Linked DNA regions of Homo sapiens: regions 1 and 2 are each linked to region 3. The links are contacts of gene promoters, found by promoter capture Hi-C in human tissues and cell types (Jung and others, 2019). All regions are on one chromosome and are shown on one strand. Each heading gives the region's core, a stretch centred on a gene start or on the middle of the fragment in contact. The rest is flanking DNA. Distances are from core to core; before and after follow the strand shown.

Region 1 (4,364 bases), core at 644-3,143, 96 kb after region 3:
ACAAAAATCAACGGGCTTGGTGTCATGTACCTGTAGTCCCAGCTGCTCAGGACACTGAGGCAGGTGGATCACTTGCACCTGGGAGATCCAGCCTGCAGTAAGCTAGGATCACACCACAACCTGGCTGACAGAGCAAGCCTGTGTTCCAAAAAAGAAAAGAAATTCACCCAGAAACTAATCATAGAAACAACTAACTCGTGCTGCACTTTCTGTGCAGGCCCAGATGGAGGTGTTTGCCATCAGCCCCTGCACAGTGCAACGCAAGGGGTTGTGGTGTCACCCTTCACAGATGAGGAAGCAGGAGCCCCGCTCATTGCCGGGAACACCAGCCGAGGCCAGGGCTGGGCATGGCCGGGCTGAGACACAGGATCTGGCCTCAGACACCTTTTTCTTGACGGGCTCCAGTCTTCACTCTGTGCCACTGGCCCCAGCAAGCCCTGGTATGTACAGAGACCACGGAATACAGCTGGTCTGTACCATGAAACACCAGTTCAGGCATTATCTCGTTGACACTGAGAAGCCCCAAAGTTCAAGGATTGAGGACGTTTTTACAAATAATGGAATCCAGAAAGTGTGAGAATATAGAGCTGACCTTTTAATTCAGCCGTGAGAAATTGTAAAACTCTGTGCATTGAATGGGGAGCTATTGAGATGGATGGTGTGTGGCATAATTTTGTTGTTCTCCTATGCTTAACAGATGATTAAACTTCAGGAAGTATTTAAGGCATTTTATCTTGGAAAGCACAGTGGTCGAAAACTTCAGTGGCAAACTACTTTGGGACATGCTGTTTTAAAAGCGGAGTTTAAAGAAGTAAGTTGTCTGTTTCATTTATTTTTTATTATTTGTAAATATGTTAATATAATTTTTTTATTGTTACTGGACTTTAGTAGCAAAAAAGGAGTGTTTCACTTTAATTCACTAGCTTTTATAAGTCAATAAAATTTGTAACAGTTAAAGGGTTATTATTCCAATCAATAAAAATTCTTAAGAAATCAATCCATAGAAAACCATTTACCTATTGAAAAAAAGAGCAGAGAATGTGAAGAGGCAACTCATAAAAGCAAAATTGAAAAAAATATCTGTGAAGATGCATTACACTTCTCTGCTAAACAGAGGGCTTCAAAGTAAAATACAGTAAGATGCCACTTTTTGACTAAGAGATTTGATGAAGCCTAAAAAATAAAAAAAAATTAAAAAAAACAGACTCTTGCCCACTACTGGAAGAAGCATAAACTGTAGTGAGCTTTTGGAAGGGCAGTTTGGCATTGTGAACTTTGGCAACCCTGCTGCCGAGTTGTTGCCTTAGTTTCAACTCTAGGAACTCATCTTAATAAGACATTTTCACGGATTAATGAATGAGAATAGTGGTTGCAGTGCTGTTATTATGAGCGATTATTTAAGAGGGGAGAATGCATACAATGCACTGATCAATGAAAGGCGCTTATGAAACGGCAATTATATACACTAAGCAAAAACATAAAATTCCTATTTTGTATAGCTGTTATATTAATAATAAACTTATCTGTACATTATCAAATAAGTTATACATACCTACTTTATTATTGTAGAGAGTCATATACATGAAACCATATATTCTCTTCCTTAAGGTATTAGGAAAGTTAATTTCTATTATCCCCAGTTTTTTACCTACTTGCTGACTTTAGTTGAACTTGACCTCCACAGGGTCTGTACCAGCACCACCAACTGCAGCTCTCTCCAGGTGTGCAGGAAGGGCTTGTTATGGGCTTGTGATGAGTCTGGGCTGGGTCCGCAGAGGGGGCCACCAACTGTCACCCAAACTCTCATGTGCCTCTCGTGGGTCTGACCTGGAGGCATGTGGCAAGTTGCTGCAGCACTAACTCCTGAATAGAAAAGGAGATCATCCTGGGATATATAAGGCCAAATTGCATTCACCCCTACGTTACAGTCAGTCCCGTATAAAAGAAAGCTGGACTGTAATCCCAGTACCTGGGGAGGCCGAGGTGGGTGGATCACAAGGTCAGGAGATCGAGACCATCCTGGCTAACACAGTGGAACTCCATCTCTACTAAAAATACAAAAAATTAGCCGGGCTTGGTAGGCACCAGTAGTCCCAGCTACTCGGGAGGCTGAGGCAGGAGAATGGCATGATTCCGGGAGGTGGGGCTTGCAGTGAGCTGAGATTGTGCCACTGCACTCCAGCCTGGGTGACAGAGCGAGACTCCTTCTCAAAAAAAAAAAAGTTTGAGAGCAAAAAGAAGCTTCTTTTAATTTTTCAAAGATTGTACATGCACAGCTTCAGAGGTGTGATGAGGCCTTCTCTTCCAGGGGAAGAAGGAATTCCAGGTGTCCCTCTTCCAGACACTGGTGCTCCTCATGTTCAACGAGGGAGATGGCTTCAGCTTTGAGGAGATAAAAATGGCCACGGGGATAGGTACGAAAACTGCAGAGTGCATAGCTCCATGAGTTGTTCTTAAAGCATGTATTTGTTTTAAGATAAGACATAGACTTGGTAGCATGATTGGTTTACTGTTGTTGAGTCTCATTCGTTTAACGCCAGCCTTTGCCTGCATTTGCTTCCCATTCAGAGGATAGTGAATTGCGCAGAACGCTGCAGTCCCTGGCCTGTGGCAAAGCACGTGTGCTGATTAAAAGTCCCAAAGGAAAGGAAGTGGAAGATGGAGACAAGTTCATTTTTAATGGAGAGTTCAAGCACAAGTTGTTTAGAATAAAGATCAATCAAATTCAGATGAAGGAAACTGTATGTATAAACTTTCTCTTTTTACTTATAGGGGGTTTAGCAGGGAATCATTTGTTTTTGTAGTAATGTTTTTGGCTGTTAGAGGCCTGAAGCACATTTCTACAATAATCCAATTTCACTATGTAATGTTTATAAGAGTACTCATTTTCCTGTCGCTTTCATTAACTTCACATTCTCAGTAGGAAAGAAAATCAGAAAAAAAGCCACTTAATGTTATTCCTATTCACAAAAAAGTTGTGTGCTAAGCCAGAACTCCCCATGGTCATAGGGTTTCGAAAATTATCCACACTTTCTATGGTAATAGAATCTGATATGGTTCACTCTTGGTGTTGTACATTCTGTGGGTCTGGGTAAATGTATAATGTTATGTATCCACCATTATAGGATCATACAGGACAGTTTCATTGCCCTAAAAATTCTCTTATGTTCTGTCGCTGTATCCCTGTCTCCCTCCGAGCCCCTGGCAACCCCTGACCCTGTTACTGTCACCATAGTTTTGCCCTTTCCTGAATGCCGTACAGTTGGAGTCATAGTGTATATAGCCTTTTCAGATTGGCTTCTTTATTTATTAGAACGTATTTGAGGTTCACCGTGTCTTTTCATGACTGGGTAACTCTGCTTTTTGCACTGAAGGATTCTCCGTTGTCTGGATGCATCACAACTTATCCCTTCACCTACTGAAGGACATCTGGTTGTTTCCAAGTTTTGGTGATGATGACTAAAGCTGCTATAAACATTTCTGTGCAGGTTTTTATGTGGACTTAAGTTTTTAACTCCTTTGAGGGTGCACCTTTTATAGTGGGCAAAAGTGAGAAGGTCTATCAGTTCTTTCTCCCGAAGGTAACCACTACTGCCCTTTTTGTTTGTGGTCACAGCCTTTTTCTGTGGTGTGAGTGTATGTAAACTTTTTTTTTAGTGGGATCACTAAGCCAGGCACAGTGACATGCACCCATAGTCTCAGCTACTCGGGAGGGTCGCTTGATCCCGGGAGTTTGAGGCCAGCCTGAGCAATGCAGTGAGACCCCAAACTCTACAAAAGAAAAAACACCTGGGATCACTGTACATATGGCACCTGTCAGGGCCTTCCTGTAGCCAGTTTTCGTTGCTGATCGCAGTCTTCTCCTGGCCAGGACTTGTTGCAGGAGCACAGTGCCGGTTGTGTAGACCCACCAGGGCTGGCAGTGCCCTCGGCCACAGGCACTAACATTCCTCCACTGCCCCTCCTGAAAATAAGATTACGTTCAACACCCTGGCACAGACATTTCTGTGCACTTGTTAGATTGTTTCTTTAGTGTGATTCTTGCTCTGGAGCTGCTGGGTAAAATAATGTGTACTTGTCTTAGTTTGCTCTTTTCCAAGTTGAAGTCTGGCAGATTTCACCAGAGCACAGTGTCTGCCCCCACCTCCACCTGTCCTTCGCTCACCCTGTTCTGAGCAGCCCAAAGATAGTTTGTTGCAGTTTTCATTTTGATTTCTGATTCTTTACAGCATCTTTCTACCACTCAGTAGTTTATACAAATTATATAATCTTTCTAATGCTCAGTTTCTCATATTTAAAATAGACATACTACTACCTCAAGTTGTGAGAATTAAATGAATCGTTTAGAAAGCTCTTTGCCACAC
Region 2 (3,913 bases), core at 738-3,237, 82 kb before region 3:
CTGATCTGGAGCACTGGAGTGGGTTCTCTCTGTTCAGGTGAGGGAGACACCCCCCTGAGATGGGCCCTCCTCTGTTCCAGGTCAAAGCCATCTTGGACGCAGCGTCCCAGAAGATAGCAACCTTCACAGACATCGGCAACAGCCTGGCGCATGTGGAGCACCTGCTGAGGGACCTGGCCAGCTTCGAGGAGAAATCAGGCGTAAGGCGGGGTCCCGGCGGGGGCGGCGGGAGAGTGTGGGCAGCATCATCAAGTGCTGCTCAGGAAGGCGCAGGAATGGGCCTCCCGCCTACGGAGAACGGACCCCACAGCCCCCCGGGGATGTCCATGGGGTGGGGGGTGCTGCTGCCTGTACCCCTCCCCTCCCACACCCCACCCACAGCACATGGCCCTGCCCGGCCTCCTCTGGGTCAGGTCCCTGCAGACGGTCAATGCCTTTGCTGGGACCACCACAGCCCCCAGAAGCACTTGCCACAGAACAGCTTCGGGGATTAAGCAGCATCTCAGGCATCCGCAGCAGTAAACAAAGAAATCAAGACACACGTGTGCCCCGGGACACACATCCCGTACAGCAAGGCACTGTGTGCCTCGAACAGAAAGAGGCCTGAGCTGGTCCTCTGGGTGGCCGTCCACAGGTGGCCGTGGAGAGGGCCCGGGCCCTGTCTCTGGACGGCGAGCAGCTCATTGGGAACAAGCACTACGCGGTAGACTCCATCCGCCCAAAGTGCCAGGAGCTCCGGCACCTCTGTGACCAGTTCTCTGCGGAGATCGCAAGGAGGAGGGGGCTGCTCAGCAAGTCCCTGGAGCTGCACCGCCGCCTGGAGACGGTAGGCCGAGCCGGACCCCACCCCACTCCCCCCCAGCTGCGGAACCAGCCTCTTCCTCCCACATCCACCACCGGCTGACCCTTGTCGTGGGGAGGGCAGCTCTTTGGCTGGAAAATGTCCTTGCACCCTTCGTTTCTGGTCTTGTTGGCCTAGAGGGTCTTTTTCTAGAATTCATTTGCCACAGTTTTATTTCTTTTTTTTTTTTTTTCTCACTGCAACCTCTGGTTCCTGGGCTCAAGGGATCCTCCCACCTCAGCCCCCAAGTAGCTGGGACTGTAGGTGCATGCCACCGTACCCAGCTAATTCTTGTATTTTGTGTGTGTGTGATAGAGATGGGGTCTCACTATGTTGCCCAGGCTGGTCTCGAACTCCTGGGCTCAGGTGATCCTCTCACCTTCACCTCTCAGAGTGCTGGGATTACAGGCGTGAGCCACCCTGCCCAGCCAATAATGATTTCTTTAAAAGATCCAGAAGCTTAAGGCCTGGTTGATCCTACTGCACTTACCCTGCCTCTCCAGGCCCCGCCCTGGGTAATTCACTGGTGTTGTCCAGCACTGTGTCCCCTTGGGATTGGCCTTGTCCAGCACTGTGTCCCCTTGGGATTGGCCTTGTCCAGCACTGTGTCCCCTTGGGGTGCTTTGGACAGGGTGGCGGGAGCACGAGGAGTCGGTGGCCCGGGATCTGTCGGGAGGACACCCCGGCAGTGTGTGCCTGGACAGGGTGACGCTCTCACCCTCTCACGGCGTCCTGCCCTCGGCAATGCTCTGTGTTTCCAGTCCATGAAGTGGTGTGATGAAGGGATTTACCTGCTGGCCTCACAACCTGTGGACAAGTGCCAGTCCCAGGACGGCGCGGAGGCTGCCCTCCAGGAAATCGAGAAGTTTTTGGAGACCGGTGCGGAAAATAAGATCCAGGAGCTCAACGCGATTTACAAGGAATACGAATCCATCCTCAACCAAGATCTCATGGTAACGCTGACTCGGGCTCTCCATTTGCAGCTTGCTGTCCCGAGCAGTGAGGCATTCCTCTGTGGGAAGTTTGAAAGAATCATTTAATGAATTATTTGTATTTATTTATTATTATTTTTTTTTTGAGATGGAATCTCGCTCTTGTCGCCCAGGCTGGAGTGCAGTGGCACGATCTTAGCTCACTGCAATCTCCGCCTCCCAGGTTCAAGCAATTCTCCTGCCTCAGCCTCCTGAGTAGCTGGGATTACAGGCGCCCACCACCAAGCCTGGCTAATTTTTGTATTTTTATTAGAGACAGGTTTTCACCATGTTGGCCAGGCTGGTCTCGAACTCCTGACCTCAGGTGATCCACCCAGCTCAACCTCCCAAAGTGCTGGAATGACAGGTGTGAGCCACCGCACCTGGCCCATTTAATGAATTACTACCAAATAATAGGCATATGAGAGAAACACACAGTTGGGAGGTCAAGCTGAATTTTCCTTTCAACACAGAAATTATTTCCACGCCAACCCTGCGAGGTGGCCATCCCGCCTCCGCTGGCAGACTTTGTGGCATGGGTGTGTTCTTCAGGAAGGGCCTGGCCCTGGGACCTGGTGATGCCCTTGAGACCAGGCTCCTCCTGAGCCCTCCACATGCCTGGGGAAGGCTGCAGGCCCCTCCCTCGCATGGAGCTGCCCTTTCCCGAGGCCGGGGCCCCGTCCCGTGTGGGGGCTGCATCCCCCTCTCCGTCCGTAGTGGCCAGGGCTGGACACAGCTGCGCTGCGCTGACAGACCCCGCATGGAGAACATTTAAAGCGGGGGTTGGGCGTGCCCCGGCACGTTCTGCGCCTGACTGTGTATTTTTAGTGATGACACCAACATGTGCAAGGCACCTTACTGAGCATGCGGTTTCAGGAGCACGTGCGAAAGGTCTTCCAGAAGCAGGCAAGCATGGAGGAGGTGTTCCACCGCAGGCAGGCCAGCCTGAAGAAGCTGGCGGCCAGGCAGACGCGGCCCGTGCAGCCGGTGGCCCCCAGACCCGAGGCACTGGCAAAGTCGCCCTGCCCCTCCCCAGGTCTGTGTGGCCGCCCGGTGCCCCGGGTGCTGTGGGACCCTCGGGGGAGCCCCGGGCGTTGAGAGCTTGGTACATCTGAGGCAGCCACCTGCGAAAACTGTCTCCACACGCCTCCTCCCCTTCCACCTCCGGGCCCCAGTTCAGGGCCTGAGGGCCGGTTCCCGCCACCCCTCACCCATGTTTATAAATGGAGTTTTGTCAGGACCCGGCCACGCCCATCCTGTGCCACGCACATCTTGTAGGCATCGTTGTGGCTGCTTTTCCATGAGGCTGGCAGGGTTCAGTGGTCTCAGTGAAGCCCACGTGGCCCAAAACTGGAAACACAGAGCTCCCACAGAGGAACCATCTCCGGCCTTCCCAGCTCCAGCCTCTCCACGGTCTGTCCTTTCCCGGTGCTATTGCCAAACAACATTCCTCACACACGGCCCAGACCCTGGGCTCCAGGAGCCCTGAAGAGCCACGTCCGCGCACCTCAGTCCGGCGCGCATTGCTGGTCCCAAACCCGCCCTCTATGCCGAGCCAGGCACGGCGCCATTTCCCAGAGACTTTCCCGCCACCTCTGTGTCTCAAAACGAACCCTCTTCCCATCCTTGCTGGTTTCTCACACACGAACCCACCAGGCGAGCTGCTGCCCCAGCTTTGGCGAAAGTCAGCTGTCAATCTCAGGGGCCCCGGGGGCCAGGCTCTTGCCTTCCTGTGCTGGGTCCCAGGCGACCTTATTTTCTGCCTGTTGGGAGCTCTCCCAGGTCGGAGCCCACAGGCGCTGTGTCCCCGTGGGCTGTGGGAACGTGGGGTGACTCAGGGCAGTGAGGCCCCACCGTCCTCCCCCTTCCCGCACCACCACCTGTGGCCTCAAAGGCCAAGTCCTGCCCACGCCACCACCTGTGGCCTCAGAGGCCAAGTCCTGCCCACGCCACCACCTGTGGCCTCAGAGGCCAAGTCCTGCCCACGCCACCACCTGTGGCCCCAGAGGCCAAGTCCTGCCCATGCCACCCCCTGTGGCCTCAGAGGCCAAGTCCTGCCCACGCCACCACCTGTGGCCTCAGAGGCCGAGTCCTACCCTCT
Region 3 (4,057 bases), core at 186-2,685:
CATCTGTTACCACCTGAATCTCCACTGTGAGTCCCAGCTTCTCGGATGCCCACTCCTGTCTCCACCTGGACATCCCACAGACACCTCAAATTTGCCAAACCTCGCTTCCCTCTGCCCTCCTGGAGCTTGGCCGTCTCAGCACACGCACTGCCATCCTCCCAATCGCTCAGCCCAAACCTTGGAGCCGTGCTGCCCGACACAATTCATCATGAATCCCATCAGCTTTCCCTTCCTGAAGCATCCAGACTGCAAACGTGCTTCCTGCTGCATGGCTGCACCCTCACCCCCTCCTGGACTAGCCGGCAGCCTCCCTTTTGACTTCTCTGGAATGTTCTGTTCTCCACACAGCAGCCCAGTGATCCCTTCAGAGCACAAATCTTTCCATGTCAATTCCTGTTCCCTCCAATATCTTCCCAACACAGTGAAAATGAAACACCAGGTTCTTACCTCAGGCTTCAAGGGCTGATATGGTTTGGCTGTGTCCCCACCGAAATCTTATCTTGAATTGTAATCCCCATAGTCCCCACGTGTCCTGGGAGGGACCCGGTGGGAGGTAATTGAATCATGGGGGTGGTTTCCACCATGCTATTCTTGGGATAGTGAGTGAGTCTCAAGAGATTTGATGGTTTTATAAGGATCTGGCATTTCCCCTGCTTCAGTCATTCTCTCTGCTGCCACCCTGTGAAGAGGTGCCTTCTGCCATAATTATAAGTTTCCTGAGGCCTCCCCAGCCATGTGGAACTGGGAGTCAACTAAACCTCTTTTCTTAAATTACCCAGTCTTGGCTATTTCTTCATAACAGTGTAAGAAGGGACTAATACACAGGGCCTACATCTGAAAGCAGCAAACGACAACCCTGGGGCCAAATCTGGCCCCTTAATAGCTCTTATAAATAAAGCTTTATTGGCACACAGCCAAGTGTTCATTCATGATTGTCTATGCTGCCTCTGCTACAATGGTGCTGAGCTGTAGTGACAGACACTATTTGGCCCTTCCCCGCTTTCTCCCTCCTCCCTCCCTCCCTTCCTTTTCTCCCCTTCCTTCTTTCCATCCTCCTGCTTTCCCTCCCTCACTCCCTCCTGTCTCTTTCCCTCGTTCTTTTCTGTGTATTCCACACACACCTAGAACGTAAGCTGCATGTGACTTTGTCTGTCCCGCCCAGTGCTGTGTCCCCAGGGCCTATCTCACCTCCATTGACCACACACGGGCATGGGTGCCACCTTCCACCTTGCACCTGCTGCCTTTACCTTCTGTTCTCTGTCTCCCTAAATATCTCCCAGGGTCCTCTGAGCCTTCACCGTTCATTTCTCTGCCTGGCCTCAAACAGAAAACGTCAGGAGGGAAGCACACAGCTGCACAGGTCGTGCCCCGAGGCTCCTGCTGCCGGCACCTCCCCCAGCCTGGACTTTGGCTGTGTTTGTAGCCCTGTCCCAGCGCTCCGGGTGGGAATGGCAGGCTGCGTCCCACTGCTCCAGGGCCTGGTCCTGGTCCTCGCCCTCCATCGTGTGGAGCCCTCAGGTAGGCATCTGGCTTACCTGTCTGTTGTGCCTGTGCTGTGTCTTTCTTGACTCGGTCCATGGTGGATTTGTAGATGAGGCTTTTTCCAGGAGCCAGAGGAGCCCTGAGTGCCCAGACTAGTCTTAATTCCCCTGAAAAAGCTGTTTGGATCTTTATCATTTGGTGACAAGTATTTGGGACATGATAGTGTCACTTGGGGTCCTCCCAAGAGATGCCCAAATGGAAAGAAGCCTGTGTGCAGGGGATTCAGCCGGGAAAGGCCGGGGAGAGGGGAGGGGGAAAGGGGGAGGAGTGGGGGGAGGCCTGGGTTGGGCATTGGACGAGGGGAGGGGGTGGGGCAGGCTGAGCCCAGACTGCAATGTGGGCAGAGAGAGCCTTGGCCAGGCCAGCCAGGAATGCCCAGTCTTGAGTCAGGAGACATAGCCAGGGAGCAGCCACCCTGCCTGCCTGCCACCCTTCTACCACCAGCCACTTCACTGAAGGAACGACATGGACTCCATTCTGACTCTGCCTGCACAGGCGTCCAGGAAAGCTGCAAGTCAAAACACCCAGCATCCCCGCTGGCCCCATGGTCTCCCGCTGGCCCCATGGTCTCCCACCCTGAGAGGGTGATCCCCCCGCCCTGCCCTGCCCAGCACTTACCGTAGCCGGACTTAGCTGAGCCCCCCCTGCTGTAACCCTCAGCACCGAGAGAAAAGGAGGGAGGATGGGAAGGGCCTGGGCTTTGACCCTCCCGGAGAGGGAGAGAACATGCTTTGGGACCCTCAGGTGGGAAGAGGCTCCAGAGACCACTGCCGCGGGTCAACTCATTTGCCTTCTCCTCCTGGAAATCGCAGAGCCTGCTGCAATGTATAAGTTTCTTCTTTATGTGTTTTATCAAGATGTTAAATGCTGCGCACAGAGGCAGCACAGGAGCTGATGGCTCTTGGTCCCCAGTTCTCAGTACGGGGACCTTTGACCCCAGCTCAGCCTTCCTTCGCACTCAGACCCAAAACCCAGTTGGAGCCCTCCCTCCTCCACTTTCCTGACTGAGGCCCGTGGCCTCTCTGCAGAACCTTAGTGTATCCGCACTGATCCTGGGGCTGATCCATTCGCCCAGAGGATGAAGTGCTTGCCTACCTCGGGGGAGGGAGTAGCGGGGTGGCCCTGAGGCCCTCGCAGGCTGAGAGCCTGTGGAGACGGACGGGGCTGGGGCTGGCGGCCGGCCGGGGAGGAAGCCAGGCAGCTCTGGAAAGCAGGGCCCTCGGTGCTCCCAGTCACCTGCCTTCTTGTCTCGTCTGTAGTATTTCTCCCGGCCTCCAAAGCAAACGACGTTCTGGTGAGGTGGAAGCGTGCGGGCTCCTATCTTCTGGAAGAACTCTTCGAGGGAAACTTGGAAAAAGAATGTTATGAAGAAATCTGTGTCTATGAAGAAGCAAGAGAAGTGTTTGAAAATGAAGTAGTCACTGTATGTACCCCCACCACAAACCACAGGCCTCCTCATTATTTAGACTTCTGCTGGCCCAGGGAGCATCATTTCTCAGAGATTAAGCTTAATTAATTAGCCTATTTACTTACCGATGAGGTTGACACAATCCCAGTTTTACAGATGAGGAAACAATTTAGAGAATCGACTTAATCCACCTTTCCCTACAGCAGTGAGTGGGGCTGGAAGTCAGCTCAGAGCCCACTGGACTCATTTCTTCAGGTCAGGCAAGGCCCACACACTGATCAGACACCCAGCATACATTTTCTTTCTAGGCTTCAAGTCTGAATAATTCTCCTAATTTTAGATACTCCTACCCCAAACTAAGTGTCCCCACTCCCTACAGAGGTATATATCTTTAAAATTCAACTCGGTTTATAAAAAGCGAAAAGGTGATGTGACTTCTATATCATGTGCTTTTGTGGAGGGTGGCGTGGAGATTGGCCCTAGAAGGGAAGGGCCACGTTAGGGGCTGTGGGTGGTGGGTTTGTGCCATGTCATAGACTCTGGCCTTCCTCAAATAGGTGGTGGTAAGCACATGTTGAGTAATATATCTTACAGATACATTTAGTTACTATACATTTAACATAAACAAATAGGCTGTAAAACAGGAAAATTGTGCATTGTTTCAACCACTATTGTCCTATTAAGTGAATAAAATCAACATTTTCTTACCTTCAAGTTCATCTACAGGAAAGAATATAGAAAAACAAATATCCCATTTGTAACATTTTTATGTTTTAACTCTAAAGGATGAATTCTGGAGACGATATAAGGGTAAGTGGTTTCCTTCGTCTCCTCAGAAGTATTAATTCCTCGGGATGAGGTGCGTGGGTGGGCTTAGGACGCTTCACGACCCCAGCTCAGCGGATGCCAAGCCTCTGGCTCCAGGACCCACGGTGTCTCTCCAGGGAAGGGCAGCTCCGACTCTCCCCAAGGACCAGGTCAGGAAGCCCCCGGGCTCTGCCACCAGGGCCACAGGCAGTGCCTGGTTTGTCTTGCCCAGTGTCTGGGTAGTTTCTTGGCACTCTGGGACATGGGCCACAGGCCAGGAGGGCCCCCCCAGAGCAGCTC

The links. The method cuts DNA at HindIII sites, captures the fragments that hold promoters and counts their contacts. A contact is called where the count stands out against the background at its distance.
Region 1: a fragment that was not itself captured here is called in contact with the fragment with the promoter of PROZ in region 3 in 3 of the 25 tissues and cell types used here (bladder, heart right ventricle and neural progenitor cells).
Region 2: a fragment that was not itself captured here is called in contact with the fragment with the promoter of PROZ in region 3 in 3 of the 25 tissues and cell types used here (H1 embryonic stem cells, dorsolateral prefrontal cortex and ovary).

What each region holds. Positions count from the first base shown.
Region 1 is chr13:113,252,385-113,256,748 of GRCh38, forward strand. It overlaps CUL4A (cullin 4A), which reads left to right. Exons shown (of 20, transcript NM_001008895.4): 16 at 698-811; 17 at 2,309-2,414; 18 at 2,569-2,741. Among named protein-coding and RNA genes, the nearest start is that of MIR8075, 8.4 kb to the right of the region's middle. The HindIII fragment of the contact is 5,416 bases long and covers 1-4,364 here.
Region 2 is chr13:113,074,364-113,078,276 of GRCh38, forward strand. It overlaps MCF2L (MCF.2 cell line derived transforming sequence like), which reads left to right. Exons shown (of 30, transcript NM_001112732.3): 10 at 81-200; 11 at 635-826; 12 at 1,603-1,794; 13 at 2,689-2,848. Among named protein-coding and RNA genes, the nearest start is that of F7, 29 kb to the right of the region's middle. The HindIII fragment of the contact is 3,451 bases long and covers 263-3,713 here.
Region 3 is chr13:113,157,213-113,161,269 of GRCh38, forward strand. PROZ (protein Z, vitamin K dependent plasma glycoprotein) reads left to right here and starts at 1,436. Exons shown (of 8, transcript NM_003891.3): 1 at 1,436-1,518; 2 at 2,802-2,965; 3 at 3,736-3,760. The coding sequence starts at 1,449. RefSeq lists enhancers at 919-1,496, 2,073-2,650. The HindIII fragment of the contact is 7,105 bases long and covers 1-4,057 here.